Regions from separate parts of the Homo sapiens genome. Here region 2 is linked to region 1. The links are contacts of gene promoters, found by promoter capture Hi-C in human tissues and cell types (Jung and others, 2019). All regions are on one chromosome and are shown on one strand. Each heading gives the region's core, a stretch centred on a gene start or on the middle of the fragment in contact. The rest is flanking DNA. Distances are from core to core; before and after follow the strand shown. Region 1 holds the start of PITX3 (paired like homeodomain 3). Region 2 holds the start of LDB1 (LIM domain binding 1).

Region 1 (7,810 bases), core at 3,548-6,047:
AGAGAGGTAGACCAGGGACATAGTGAGAGCCCACAATCGGTTGCAATAATAATGCCTGAGGCTGGAGGCATAACCTGGAACTCAAATAGGAGAAAACCTTTCTCATTCAGGGGCTAAATGGAGAGATGAGAGGAGCTGGAGTTGTGATGTTTTCATCTTATAAACATGAAACTGAAGTGAGGTCCTTAAGTGGACATGGCTGCATGTTCATTAGGGACGCTGAGCACCCAGACTCTATGGTTTGCTGAACTGCAGTGTGCAAATGGGAGCAAATCGAGACACATTTGCAGCAAAGATTTGAAGCACTCAAGTTATTAAGGGACGATTCGGGGATCAGAGAAATGACTCCACAGTCTTCCTGCTCTTCCTTGCTTCCTTCCTTCAGCAAGTATTAGGTGTTAAGAGGGATCCCAAGAACAGTAAGGCAGAGACCCTATCTTGTAGGAGTCTGCAGTGTAGGGAGGCAAACAGAGCACAGGATGGAAAGATGGACCGCATGGGTCTGACTCCCAGACTGTGGGAGATCAGAGAGAGGGAAGCCCATGGAAGGTGGTACCGAGTGTTGGGAGCTCAGAGAATATAGGCACGTGACTGAATTGGGAGTTCAAGAGGAAGAGAAGGGGTATGGCATTCTAAATAATCAGCAGTGTTGGGAATAAGCTGGCAGGCTGGGAGGGCAGTGGTGAGCCTAGGTTAGTCAGAGTCTCAGTGTAGGCCACGGGAGATCTGCAGAGAGAAACGAGTCAAACCGAGGGGGCCTCCAATGGGGGACAAGGGGCAGTGGTTCAGATTTGACAAAGTCTAGGCTACAGTATGTCCAGCTTTTTCATCAAAAACCGCTAAGATTCACACTGAGCAACAGCCCTGAATAAAGAAAAAAACCCTAAGACCAGTCAAAAACAACATCTACTAGAAAACAGAAGCATGACCTGAAACAGCTGCCACTAGTATGAAATTGTTTTGAGGTCACCAGCTTTATGTTAAAAATGCAAACAAATTTTTCGTTCTATTCCATACTTTAGTCATGGATTATAAAATATTTTAATATAAAAATAAAGCTTTTTTTAATATAAAACCCCCCAATCTTCAAGTGATATCACCACACCAGGAAGATGGGCCCTGTTTAGACTGTGTGTCATGCCTCCTCCACTCCCGTACTGCCCTCCTCCCCCGCCCACCCCACTATGAGAAGCAATGCACCAAGCAGTAGGGGTCACTGGAGGCTTGTATCCAGGGGTGTGACAAAAAACAGCATCTTTGTGACCTTTATTTGACCATGGTGAGCATAAAGGGTTGGGCAGGGAAGAAATAGGAAAGGAGAAACTATTAACTGAAAGGTGTAAAAAAGGCCCCGGGGCAGGACAATGGGAAAGGAGAGATAGAGTTTTGAAAGTTATTCCTCTCTGTCTTCCCCCAACTCTTACCCCACTGATGATCTTTTCCTTTTCCTCCCCATCATTCTTTTCATGAGTCCCTGGCAGTGGCCATGGACACCCTAGACACCCCAAAGCTCAGGACCTAATGGATCCTTCAGGTTAGTCTAGGAGGCATCATTTAGTGTGAATGGAGAAGAAAAGATTCTACTGGCCCCATCCTTCAGTCACCACAAGTCAGCTCTAGCCTGCTGCGTTTGCCCTCCCGTCCTGAACCTGAGTCCTGGGCCAATGTTCCCATCCCTGAGCAGGAGGCAGGCAGAGATATTTGGCCTGGTAGACAGGCTGAGCATTTGGGGAGCTCCCCAGAGTTCTCAGACAGCGGCAGGGGTAGTGGCCAGCATCTGAAGTCCACGATAGGGTGGCCCGTCTGTCATTAAGATCCCTCCTATGGCTGCATCAGGGATGAGATTAGGCTGCTCTAAGTCTCAGCCCCACTTTTCCAAACAAAGATTCTGCAGCTTGGGCATAATAATAGCAGTGCTTCTTATTTATATGATGCTCCTCCATTTGCAGAGGGCCTTCACAGACATAATTTCATTTAACTCGCACAACTGCCCTGCATGGCTGGAGTGCCTATCCCCATTACACCTCTAAGAAGGCAGGATGCAAGGTTACACAGTTTGAAGAGATTTGAAGAGATTCAAACCATCTAGTTCTGCTCTTTCCATGCCTCACTCCCTCCACCCTGTAGCCATTTGTGACTCTGACATGTGCTGATCCTTCCAAACCCTGAAGGATTCCATTTCTACTTCCTGCCTCTATCATCTCTCTGGAAATGAGCTCTGGAAGTATGCTGCCCACTGTGTGCCAAAGAACATTTTTCTATTCATCCTGAGCTTGCATCACTCCAGTTCTAAAAGGCCCCCTCATCTCCAGTTTCAAGATTTGGGGAGCAAGCAATTCTTCTGCATATCTAGGTCTTTTATTATGCTGTAGATTTCCATCCTGTCTCACCTTCCAGAGGACTAAACTTTGAAATTTGCCCTCACCAGCAACCCCTGGCTCCCCATTCTGCCAATCATTCTCTGACCCTACTCTAGGCCCATGACATTCTTCCTAAGAGCCAGTGACCAGGCATGCGTTCAGTTACAAGGCTTTATGCAAGGGTGGGAAAAGGTTCTGTCTTTTGTTTCCAATCACCTTCATTATGATACCACCTCTTTGGCCTTTTTGGCAAAAGCCAACTTTGAGCTAAAGTCTTCAGGGAACCATCTGTAATGCTTTCCCTGTTCCTTTCCTGACACAGAGTCCTTCATTTCACCTATAATTTCAGTGATTTTATGGGAGCACAGCAATGGGAGCACAAGCCCCTGAAAAGTGTATCAGAATGTGATGGGGATAATTGTGGTGTGTCTTTATATTGATCAAAATAGGGCAAATGAAAAACAAAAGTTGAGAATCCTAGCCAGTAATAAGCAAACTTTAGAACTGAGGAATGGACATGGGAGTATGGGGAATACGTATTGTATGTCACTCACAGGTGAAGGGTAAGAAAGGTTGAAACCACTGTTTAGATTACTCATTGCTAAATACAATGCCTTGCACTTGTCCTTGTGAAAACTCAGTCCCCAGCTGGGCTATCTTGCTCACTTATATGGACTCGTTCTCCCTGTTCTGTCCTCTTCAGCATAATTGAGCTGTGGTTAGAATTGGGGTCAGGGTGGATGGTCACTGTATGGGCCCAGCAGAGTCAGGGCTGTATCCCAGCTGCAGGGAAAGTAAACCCGGCTGTTAGGTAGGGCCAAGATATCCTTCCCAACCAGACTGAGAGGGCCAGATAGCCCCCTGTTGGACTCCAGAGTCTGGATTCCATGAGCCTCCTTCCCACCTCCGCTCAGCCACCAGGGTGGTGTTGGGACTGGTAGGGCTGAGGAAGAAAAAGGGAAACAGGACCACAGGATTTGCTTTGCTAATGGGGCTGTAGTTTTCTCTTCTGGCCTGGGCTCCTGCCCACTGTAGGGAAGGAGCCATTGGTCGCCTGATACTCCAGCAAGGAGTCTGGGGGGTGTCTGGTTAATTGTATTGGAATTAGGGGGCAACTGAGGCTGCCAGGGGCTTGTACCCAGCTCCTTCCTGTTTTCCCATTGCCTTTTGTCACCTATTCCTTCCTTTCCTGGTCTTGATTCCCACTAGCAGGCTCCTCATTGGCCTTCTGTCCTCAAATTTGGATTCTGGAAGTACAGAGTGATGCTCTGATCTATTCTGAATTGAAGGGGGCATGTGTCCCAGCCCACCTCACCCCAAGGCCAGGTTGTAGCCTTTACTCTCGCTCCCTGCTCACAGCTTCGCAGCCCGAAGGAGCTGAAACAAGTTTGCAAAGTGTGAGCTGGGATTTGAGGTGACCCACCGCAGCCGACCCCATCGCACACGCAGCAGCTGGGCAGGCGCTGCTGGGTAGACGGACATGCCACCCAGCCAGGGACATTCTGTCCGCCACTGCCAGACACAACTCCCGCTCCGGAGAGACCCACTTCGCTACCCGGACATTCTGTCCGCTCCGAGCCCCATGCACCGCGGACATTCTGTCCGATTCTGAGGCGGCCTCAAGTCAGGACCCTTCTGGGCCCAGACACCCCAAGCCAGATCCACTATACCCGCCGCCTGGTCACTCTGATCCGCACAGCGGCCATCTGACTCAGTCGCGGCCGGGCTCTCACAACACAGCTCCTATTCCAACTGCGGAGCAGCTGGGAAGAGAAGCGTGTGCGACCAGGCGCACCCCGGCTCCCAGCCCCAGGAGTCTGAGCCTAGGCCGAGGGGCATCGGGCGCCGTCAACTGCCCCCACACTGGGGGCCGCCCCGCCAGCTCCCCCGCTGGCCAGGGCCTCTGTAACCCCTTTCGCTCCCTGGCCGCCTGCCCCGTGCCCTGGGATTCCAGGGCGCTTTCTGGTAATGGTTTCCAGACTCCCTACTCCCTGCCTCGCGAAGCCCCTATCCTGGTTTCAAGTCTCCGGCTTCGTTCCGGATCCTCTGAGTCTCCCCCTTCCCTATCCCCTGGTTCTTACCCTGAGTTTCCCTTTTCCCAAGTCCTGGCCCCAGGTCTGCAGTCCGCCCTCCCATTCTCGACCTGTTCCCAAGGCACCGGAGTTCAGCTGCCCCAGGTCTCGTTTTAGGGATTCCAAGGTCCAGCAATAGCTCCTCGGCCCCATGAGCCCCTGTCCTTAGAATGGTCAAACACTCACAGTGCGTCCTGCAACAGGCAGACTCCCAGTAGCGGCGGCTGCGGCGGCGATCTAGAGGGCAGGCAGGGGCCAGGGGCCGGGCACCCGGCCGGAGTGGGGGCCGCCCCCCTGCTCCCGGGCCGCCTCTCCGCTCGGGCGCTCCTGGACTCTCGGAGGGAGTGAGCCTCACCGCGTACTGCCACCCCCAGCCGGCGCCCATTCACTTTATGGCAGACCAGGGCGCCCCCAGCCCGCCGCGGCGAGCCGCGCGCGTCAGGCCCCGCCCCTTTCCAGCTGCCCTGCTGGGGCTCCGCCCTTTCCAGCTGTGGATCTCCAGGCCCCGCCTTTGAGGGAGGGGTCTGGCCGGCGAGACGCCAAGAACCCCGCCCTCTGGCCAATCAGAAGCGCTCTTCAGCAACTCGGCCGCGCCCCTCCCCACGTGGCAGAGACCGCGCTCCGGCTAGGACGCTTAGGCAGAGCCAAGTGGGCGAGAGTAGAGTGGTCCCGGTAGCCACGGGTAAAAGGGATCGGCTGGCAGCGAAGTGGGTTGGGCCGCTACCCCGAGGAAAGTGGATCGGCGCCAGGTGGGAAGGCGCACGGGGCCGCCGGGTCTCAGCGCTCAGACTTCTCTGCCACTCAAGTTTCGCCGATTTTCTCCACTTGTCGCTGTCCGTCTCTCCTCCCTTTTGTCTCTGTTCCAATCCTCCCACGTCTCGCCTTTCTTTCCTCTTCTTTCTCCTCAGCCGCTTCGCTCCTGCTGTTTACCATTCTCCTTCCTCTGCCACTTTAAAAGACTCATTTCTCTTTCTCTCTGCTCCTCTTTCCTCATATCTTTCCTCTTCTTCATTTCCCCCTTCTTCTCCAAGGAAGGTGACTTCGTGGAGACAGCAGGGTTTGGAATGATACAAACCAAAGTAGTATTCCAACGCTGCCACGAACTGCACCATCACTGAGTGAACTTGGACGAGTAACTATCATCTCCCTCCCCGCGCAAAACAATTAAGAGGAGGTTCCTGCTGGATCTCAGGGCTTGGGCTGGGCACTCCAAAGGCATTGCCTTTCAGTCTGTACCCTTGTCTTGCTTAGGCTGTGCTCTCCCTCCTTCAGCAGGGCTGGTTTCCCGCTGGTGGTACCAGGTTAAGTCCTGTGGGCAAGGTGTGGCCTTGGTGCCTGCTGGTTAGGAATTTGCAAGGGACAGGACAGATGACCAAGGAACATCCTGGCAGACTGTGACTTCGGCCCTCTCTGACTTAGGCCTCAATTTCCAGGAAACAGGCTCCTTCTCTTCTCCCAGTTAGGCTATGTTGCTTGGGTGCTCCGAAGAGCCTAAGCCCAGGCCAAACACTGTGGCTCATGCCTGTAATCCCAGCACTTTGGGAGGCCGAGGCGGGCGGATCACAAGGTCAGGAGATTGAGACCACCCTGGCTAACACGGTGAAACCCCATCTCTACTAAAAAATACAAAAAATTAGCCGGGCTTGGTGGCGGGTGCCTGTAGTCTCAGCTACTGGGGAGGCTGAGGAAGAAGAATGGCGTGAACCCAGGAGGCAGAGCTTGCAGTGAGCTGAGATCGCGCCACTGCACTCCAGACTGGGCGACAGAGCAAGACTCTGTCTCAAAAAAAAAAAAAAAAAAGAGCCTAAGCCCAGTCACACAATATGCCCCTAAGGCAAATCTGAGCAGTCATGTCTTGACTGTTCAGTGACTCCCATTGCCCTTAGGATAAAGGTCAAGCTCCCTAGCCTGGCATACAAGACCTTCAGGACCTGACCTTGTCTTCATCTCCAATTTCCTAGTAGTGTCCTGCACACCTCTGGCCCTTCCTGTGAAAGTAACCCATCTTTATATTGTCAATTCCTACTCCTCCAATGTTCCACTCAAGTCTTATTTTCTCTGGGAAGCCTTTTCTGAACTCTCAGTTTAGCCCCTTGCTCTCATGACCCTCAGTGTATACCTTCTATTACACCACCCACCATATTGAAGGGATCAGCTTATGTGTTGTCTGCTATGATAATAAAATTTAGGAGGGTAAGGACCATGTCTGTTATTCCCAGGCATAATGTAGAATCTCAATAAATGTCACACTGAAATCTATGAGGAAGATGTTCTGCCTGGTAAGATGATGATTAGTGGTTAGGAGGGACTAGGGAATTGTCATCTCTCTCCTCCCCATCTCTATTGCACAATCACATGCTTTTAGAATGATGAATTTCTGGAGGTATGTAGAAGTAGATATTGGCGAGCAGAAATTTTTGGCCCACTTAGAGGATTTTCCAATCGGCTTTCCAGGACCTCTCAATCTGAGACAGGCCCAGGACACCAACTCTCAGTTTTCAAATGAAGAGGAAAATGGCTTTGAGGTAATGTGGAAAGAGGTGCTATGATGGTATATCCTCTTTCCCTGACTCTCTTTGGGTGATAGAGGCTAGATCCTCAGCTGGACCCACCGACCAGAAGCCCAATGTGCAGGTGTAGGAAGTTACTGAGGGGTTCTTCACGTCTGATATCTGATGGGTGCTTTACACTAGAGCATCGTGGCCAGGTGTGGTGGCTCACACCTGTAATCTCAACACTTTGGGAGGCTGAGGCGGGTGGATCACCTGAGGTCAGGAGTTCGAGACCAGCCTGTCCAACATGGTGAAACCCCATCTCTACTAAAAATACAAAAATTAGCCTGGTGTGGTGGCAGATGCCTGTAATCCCAGCTACTTGGGAGGCTGAGGCAGGAGAATCACTTGAACCCAGGAGGTGGAGGTTGCAGTGAGCCAAGATCACAGCACTGCACTCCATCCTGGATGACAAAGCAAGACTCTCTCAAAACAAACAAACAAACAAAAGACAAAAAAACAAAACAAAACAAAAAAATAGCGCATCGTAGCACACGGATGGTCTTTGGATGTCTGGTTTTGAGACTACTTTCCTATGTGGTTAGTTATAGAGCTTCCCTGGACTTGGGTCGTCCATAATTGGGAGGATGTATGGAAAGAATTAGGTATTTTTTTTTCACTGCCTCCCAGCAGCTTCTCCAGGTCTGCAGGGACACTGGGGCTCTAGTGTCCCAAATAGGCTGGGAATTTCATGATTCAGTCTCCTAGGAGAAAACCCATCCTCTTGTCCTCTTCTCACGCATTCTCACTTCCAGGTAATACAGGTAATTCTAAATAGCTTAGTAACCTCTATCATCTCTTGCAAGGGGAGGAGGCAGCTGGGGGC
Region 2 (7,810 bases), core at 1,520-4,019, 120 kb before region 1:
CTGTGCCCGGCCTCCCGTTGGCCTGGCGCTCTGCCATCCTCCTCTCCTGGCTCCCAGCCGCCACCACTGCTGCCTCCTCCCCTCCCCCTACTCCTCCCTGCCTTAACCCTTCTGAGCCACATGCTGCCCCAGACAGGCCCTGGCCCCCTCAGCCTCTTGCTCAGGGTGATGCCCCTTAGTCAGAGGCTCTCCCTGCTCCCAGCCATTCCAGCCCCAGAAGCTGGTCCTCACCCCAGGAGCAATATGGGTGTTGGGCATGTGTATGTGTGTATCTTGTGGTGCTTCTGCGTGTGCATGTGTGTGGGTCTGTGTGCGCTCTGGCTTCCCTCAGTCACATGTGTGGGGCATGTGCTGTCTCTGCCGGGCTGGGGGAGGAGGAGGAGCCCGGAGACAGCAGAACACAAAGGAGAGACTCAGACAGGCAGGCAGGCAGGCGGCAGGCGGCCTGCCAGGGCGCCTCAGCCCTCACCCCAGGGCTGCTCAAGGTGGGGGAAATCTTTGGGCCTGGACTGCTACATGCTGCCATGCCTTCCTTGTGTTCAAGCATGTGCTCCCCCATCCAAGCAAGCTGCAAGCCAGGTCCCCTCTCTAACCTCAACTGCTACTATTCCCCACCTCCAGTCTACTCTGAAGCCCTCCCCATGTGGTTCTCCTTGAAGTCTAACCTCCATCCACCCTCTTTGGCATCAATCTATAAGACTTCTTCATGATCTGGAAAAAGACTCCCCACTCTTCCCTATCTTTTGCCCTCTCTCCCTCAGTCAGACCACCAGACACAAAAGGAACATGCCTTCTGGGGCATTGACTGAAGTTGTCTTCCCACCCACCCACAAACCCCTGGGCTTGGGCCCTCTTCCTGTTCCCATGCTGCTCCCAGAGACTAAGAAGAAGAGATTTTCTCTCTCCTCCCACTGGACCCAGGCACCCTGCCCCAACTTCAGGGCCAACCTCCCATCCACCTCCAGCCTGACAACCCCTCCATACATACATACCCGCTTACCCACTATTTGTAGGAACTAAGAATCACAATTTAAGACTCATCCCTCTAGCTTGTTCAGATCCTTAGTTTAACTGCTCTGCTCATGTGTGTTGATGGAGGGTCAGGGCCCTGGGGTGGGCTAAGAACATGATGGATCTGAAAGGGGTACCCAGCATGGGTCAATTATAAAGGAGAAAATCCACAACATAAACATGTACACCAAGCTGGTAGAAAGAGGGACGACGGGGCCAGACAGGATTCCAGCTTGGCAAGCTCTTCCCTCTCCTCTCCCCAACCCTCTGCAGCAGGAGCCAGTGGTTCCCATACTCGGATATTCTAGGATTGTTAGGTTCTCTTATTCCTCCTTCTGGGACCCATGCCCCTTAGACATCAGCCTCAGCAGGCACCTGAAGTGTGTGCCCAGCCCAGCTTGGCCTGGGTCACATGATTTTCAAGGAAGCTTCCGCACTGGCAGCTTCCCTTGGGGATTTGTGGGGGAGTGGTGGGTGTCCAGCTGTGAAGTATGTAGCCAAAGCGGGCTACATTCAGGGACACTGACTTCCAGGAGAAAGCTGACTCCAGTCTGGGGCAGGAGGGCCAATTCCAGGACCCAGAGTCCCGGGGATGGAGACAGACAGTGTGCCGTGAGGCCCTCTGTAGACTACCTCTCCAGTCGCATGGCTTCTCTCTTTCCTCCTGGCAGTGAGGTAGACGCCCTCCGCCCCCCCCACCTGCCCCCCAGGAAAAAAACTCAGACCTAGGCTATCCCTGGCAAGAGCTGATATGTTTTGGGGAGGCAGGGATCTGAGCCTGGGTCCTCTCTCAAGTTCTCAGTTTTGGGTCAAGTATTGCTCCCCCAGCTTACCTCTCCACAAATCACTCTATTTCCTAGCCTGCCCTCCCACTAGGGCGGAGATGCCAGACCCAAGGGTCCAATTATCTGGCACCTCTTAGGAGTACCTCCGGTGCCTCAGGAGGGCCAACCTTCCCTGGCAACAGGCAGGAAAAGTTGAAGGTGGGGGGCAAGATGGGCCGCAATCAATACCTCCCTGCAAACAGGGTCCTCAGAAACAGCATGGGGGGGATGTCACAGGATAGGTAAGAGGCAATGGGCAGCAGGGAAGGGGGGGCAGCCCAAACCAGCCAATCACAACTCTATGGTGACCTGAGGGGGGGGGTCAAAAGTCCAGAGTCACTTCTGATTGGCTAACAACCTGGAATTCTGAGAATTTCAGCCCCCCCCAAACCTCTCCCCAATTAGCCTACCCCCAAAAAAACATACACATAAGCCACCCCCAGCGTCTCCTCCCCGTGTTTCTGGGCTGCTGCGCATTTACACAGTTGGGGAAAACGCTACCCGCCAGCCTGAGGCCCCGCGTAGCCCTTCCAGCCCCCGGCTTCCCCCATGCCATCGACGCCCCCCACACAAGTTCTCGCCAAACACGGGGTGAGGGGTCCGCAGGGACGGCTGGGCAGGAAGGGGCCGAGTGGCCGCACGCCCCACTCACCAGGACAGGCACAGCCCACTGACATCTTCACATCGCCCGCCTCTGGGGGCCCAGCCGAGTCACGGTGCCCGCCCCTCGCGGGGACAGGCCGGGCATGAGCCGCCGCCGCCGCCCGCGGCCCCCGCTGCGCTCGCCGCCGGCCCGGCCCGGCCTCGGCCCGGTGCGGGCGGCCCCTGGCTGCGGCGAGGGGCCTGTCAGGCGCGGAGCAGACAGGAAGGAAGCCAGGCAGGAAGGCGAGCGGCCTCTGCGTGTGTGCGCGCGGGTGTGAGTCCGCGGAGTGTGTGTCCGTGTGTGCGTGTGTGCGCGTGTGCGTGTGCGTGTCTGTGCGCTCCCGCCGCCGTCGCCGAGCGCCCCCCTCTCCGCCCTCGCGCTCGCGCTCCCTCGCGCCGGCGCCGGCTCCCCAGCCCAAGCCGGGCAGGGCCGGGCTTTATTAATATGCTAATTGTCCTGCTAGTGGGAGGGGAGAGCCGTGTCAAAGTGACCCGGGAGAGCGCGCAGCAAGCGACGACGTGCGTGCGCCGCGCGGCGGGCGGGCGGCGAGGGGCTGGGAGCGCTCGGGGAACGGCATGCATGTGACGCAGCTTTTAAAAAAGGAGACGGAGGCAGAGACCCCAGAGAGGGAGGGCGAAGGGGAGGGCTTGGAGGCGCAGCCGCGCGCTCGGTGTCCGTCCTCCGGGTGCCGCCGGATGGGGAGTCTGGCTGAGCCGGAGCGGGAGCCGCGGCTGGGGGAGGCGGAGCCGGGGTGGGCAGTGTGGTGTATCTCTCTCCACCCCGGGCCGCGCTCCGGGAGGGAAAAGGGACTGCAGACCCCCTGTCCGTGCTCCCTGCTGAGACGCCAGCCTTCTTCTGGAGGCCCCTTGTTTCGCGTCCCTACCCTAGGCTGGATGGGTAAAGAAGCATTCTCTTAATTCTTGTAGCAACCCCTCAACTCACCCCTTCCCTAAATTAACCACTCCTCCTTTGCCTGCGAAACCAGTTGGGACTAGAACTAAAAGGGTTAATTAAGTGGGGTCCCCGCCCTCCTCCGCCTAAGGGCTTGGGATCTGTGTTTTGCTGGGGGGAGGGGGCTGCGGAATGACCACCAGATTGGATTACGGAGGGGCGATAGGAGGCCATCCTTCCTTCTTGCAGACTGACGCATCAGTCAAGACACTCTCTTCCCTTCCCCCCTTTCTCCAGCCTTGGTGCCTTCACCTCCGTACCAACCGCCCAACCCCACCGCCTCCGACCCCCCTGCCTGGAAGCTGCTGTCCTTTGAGGGCTTCGGAGATGAGAACAGGAAACAGGCCCCTCCAGTGCCCCCTAACCCAGAGAGGCAGAGGCTGTGGGCCGTGGGGGGTTGGATGGGAGATGATGTGGATGGTCAATGTAAGGAACACTCCTTCCCCTGGGAGGAGCCTCCCAACCTTCAGTCACACTTCAAGGACTCCCCAACCCAGCCCTAGGAGGGGAGGGGCTCCATCTCCATCCCTTCCCAAAAGCTCAGCTTTAGCTGCCTCATAAACAGGAAATACCTATTAGCCAGGAGGAGGGAAGGGAGGGGAGCCGCCTGGAGTAGAGAGTTGACCCCCTCCCTCCTGGGGTCCCCAGCTGCTAGCTTTTCTTTCTTAAGTTTCAGTATGGGCTCCAGGGATAGACGATGGAGACTTGGACTAGTGTCTCCTCCCTAGGGCGTCTGGCCCTGACTGGGTAGGGGGTTCTCCTCTTTGTTACTTAGAGGGGTGTTGGTTGAGAAGGCTGTTTGGTTCCCTCACTCTGGCTCAGAGTCTGCACAGCTGGCTTGACTGGCTGGGGGAGGGTTACAAATGCGGAGGCTTAAAGTGTTTATGAGACCTCTTCTCTCCACCTTAGGTTTTTGCTGAGGGAGCATGAAATGATGGAACGGTGCAGAGTCCAGGGATTGAAAAGAAGGCCTGCCTAGGAATGGAGACCCTCCCCACCATGTGCTTAGGATGGGGGATAGGGGAGCTTGTACACTGTGGAGTCTCCCACCCCCAGGTTTCCCCATCTCCACCCCCACCAGGAGCAGAGAGGACCTGACTGAAGCCATCCACACTCACACAAGTATTTCCTTGGCAGCATCCCCTGCCTGAGTGCACCCCCTCCCTGCATTCTCCCAGACAAAGGTCAGCACTAGAGGGAGTAGAGAGAACATAAGGCAACAGAACACTGGCCCGAAATTGTGGATACCTAGGTTTGAACGCAAGATTCGCTCCTCAATACCTGAGTGATTTGAGACAACTGACCACCCCACCTGGGACACTAGCTTTATCCTCTGTAACCTATGGCTTGGTGAGTATCAAACTAGACAATGTACACCCAGTCACGTAGCCCAGTGTCAGCCAGGCAGTCCTGTAAATACGTGTTCTTTCTGCCCTTTTTTTTTTTTTTTTTTTAAGATTATCCAATTCCAAGAGAGGAGGGGGCTGGATTGGCAGGACAATTTGAGATGGTTTGGAGGAGGGGGAATACCTACCTTGACCTCCTTCTCTCTTTTCTGTCCATGAATTTGCCTTCCTCCAATCCTGTGACCACTTACGCCTAAGGCCACTCATTCCAAACAACTAGCTTGGTCAGATTCCATGCTGACCAACACAATGGTGATCATCTGGGTGGACAGGGGGACTACAACCCACCCTATAAAGGTCTTTGCCTCCTGTGAATCTGAGATTTCCCTCTCCTAGATTACACATGTGGAAGGTAGAAGCTTAGGAAGGAAGAAAAAACTGCCTTACTTGAGCATGCACTAATGCCAGGCACTGCCCTAGGCCTTTTACACTTGCCGACTCATTTACCTTTCATGAGGACCTTTGGAAGAAGGTGCTATTACCTCCATTGAACAAGTAGGAAAACTGAAGTTCAGAGATGATAATAAATTTGAACTTGCCTGTAAAACACTGTTCTCCCTCTTCTTCACCTACTAGTTAATGCTTCCTTAACACCTTAGTTCTAGCTTCACCTTCTCTGGGAAGATTACCCTTCCCACTCCCACTGACACTATAGCCCAGTTACCGGTAAGGAAATACCATCTCAGTACTGTTGAATGGGTGGTTAAAATAAGTGATTGGGGCTCCTACAGGAACTCCATTTAGGCAAGTTAGTTAACTTTGCCAAGGTAACAGAGCTAACAAGCACTTGACCCATTGCTCCACTCCTTGCCTTACTTCTAGTGTGGATCAGACCTGGGGAGGGAGAAGAGAACATCTTTGGAGCATCTCTGGGAATTGTGGTATAGGCAAAAATGGGAAGAGAGGTCACAGACACCTGGCAGACAGAAGGGATGTGGTAGGAAGGGGGTGGAGTCTATGTGGAGGGGGGGTCTTTAACTTAATGACAATGTCCTGGAGGACTGGAGGCTTAGCTGATTTGTATGGATGGGTGTAAGTGCCCAGTATTCTCTCTCTCTCCCTCTGTATGTGTGTGGTAAAATTCACATAACATAAAATTAACCTTTTTTTTTTAGACGGAGTCTTGCGCTGTCGCCCAAGCTGGAGTGCAGTGGTGCAATCTCAGCTCACTGCAACCTCCACCTCTCCAGTTCAAGCAATTCTCCCTACGCCTCAGCCTCCTGAGTAGCTGGGATTACAGGCACCTGCCACCACGCCTGGCTAATTTTTGTATTTTTTTTAGTAGAGACAGGGTTTCTCCATGTTGGTCAGGCTGGTCTGGATCTCCCAACCTCAGGTGATCCGCCCACCTTGGCCTCCCAAAATGCTGGGATTATAGGCGTGAGCCACCACGCCCGGCCTTTTTTTTTTTTTTTTTTTTTTTTGAGATGGAGTTTCGCTCTTGTTGCCCAGGCTGGAGTGCAATGGCGCAATTTCAGCTCACTGCAACCTCTGCCTCCCGGTTTCAAGTGATTCTCCTGCCTCAGCCTGCTGAGTACCTGGGATTATAGGCATGCACCACCATGCCTGGCTAAAAATTAACCATTTTTAAATGATCAATTCAGAGGCATTCTAGCTTTTTATTTTTAAACTTTATTCTTTTTTTTTTTTAGACAGAGTCTCGCTCTTGTCGCCCAGACTGGATTGCAGTGGCACGATCTCAGTTCACTGCAACCGCCGCCTCCCAGGTTCAAGCGATTCTCCTGCCTCAGTCTCCTGAGTAGCTAGGATTACAGGCACCACCACCACACCTGGCTAATTTTTGTATTTTTAGTAGAGATGGGGTTTCGCCATGTTAGTCAGGCTGGTCTCGAACTCCTGACCTTGTGATCTGCCTGCCTTGGCCTCCCAAAGTGCTGGGATTACAGATGTGAGCCACCGCGCCCGGCCTTCTTTCTTTTCTTTCTTGTTGAGACAGTCTCACTCTGTTGCCCAGGCTGGAGTGCAGTGGTGCAATCTCAGCTCACTTTAACCTCCGCCTCCCGGGTTGAAGTGATTCTCTTGCCTCAGCCTCCGGAGTAGCTGGGATTACAGGCGCGCACCACCACACTTGGCTAATTTTGTATTTTTAGTAGAGATGGGGTTTCACCATGTTGGCCTCCAAGTGATTCACCCGCCTCGGCCTCCCAAAGTGTTGGGATTACAGGCGTGAGCCACTGTGCCTGGCCATTTTTTTTTTTTTTTTTTTGAGACAGAATCTTGCTCTGTCACCCAGGCTGGAGTGCAGTGATATGGTCATAGGTAACTGCAGCCTCAAACTTCTGGGCTTAAGCAGTTCTCCTGCCTCAGCCTCCCAAGTAGCTAGGACTATAGGTACACACCACTGTGTCCAACTAACTTTTTTATTTTTTGTAGAGACAGGTTTCTTGCTGTTAGCCAGGCTGGTATTGAACTTCTGGCTGGCCTCAAGTGATCCTCCTGCCTTGACCTTCCAATGTGCTGGGATTACAGACATGAGCCACTGCCTGACCCTGGCCCTTGTTTTTTGTTTTTTATTTTATAGTCTTGCTGTGTTGCCCAGGCTGGACTCGGACTCCTGGGCTCAAGCAGTCCTCTTGCCTCAGCCTTCTGAATGTCTGGGACTACAGGCCCGTACCACACCAAGCCTCTAGTATTATTTATTTATTTATTTATTTTTGAGACAGAGTCTCGCTCTGTCACCAGGCTGAATGCAGTGGCTTGATCTCAGCTCACTGCAACCTCTGCCTCCCCAGTTCAAGCGATTCTCCTGCCTCAGCCTCCCAAGTAGCTGGTACTACAGGTGTGTGCCACCACACCCAGTTAATTTTTTTTTTTTTTTTTTTTGAGACAGAGTCTTGCTCTGTCACCAGGCTGGAGTGCAGTGGCACTATCTCAACTCACTGCAACCTCCGCCTCCTGGGTTGAAGCAATTCCCCTGCCTCAGCCTCCTGAGTAGCTGGGATTATAGGCATGAG

The links. The method cuts DNA at HindIII sites, captures the fragments that hold promoters and counts their contacts. A contact is called where the count stands out against the background at its distance.
Region 2: a contact is called between the fragment with the promoter of LDB1 here and the fragment with the promoter of PITX3 in region 1, in 2 of the 25 tissues and cell types used here (IMR-90 fibroblasts and ovary).

The regions. Positions count from the first base shown.
Region 1 is chr10:102,236,715-102,244,524 of GRCh38, forward strand. It overlaps PITX3 (paired like homeodomain 3), which reads right to left and starts at 4,798. Exons shown (of 4, transcript NM_005029.4): 1 at 4,619-4,798. It also overlaps a transcript of GBF1 not described here. RefSeq lists a silencer at 4,660-4,949. The HindIII fragment of the contact is 21,724 bases long and covers 1-7,810 here.
Region 2 is chr10:102,117,599-102,125,408 of GRCh38, forward strand. It overlaps LDB1 (LIM domain binding 1), which reads right to left and starts at 2,770. Exons shown (of 11, transcript NM_001113407.3): 1 at 2,488-2,770. The coding sequence starts at 2,512. It also overlaps a transcript of PPRC1 not described here. RefSeq lists enhancers at 1-248, 249-950, 2,656-3,407, 3,408-4,159, 4,160-4,909 and silencers at 1-76, 2,410-2,479, 2,570-2,649, 2,710-3,009, 3,030-3,159. The HindIII fragment of the contact is 10,982 bases long and covers 1-7,810 here.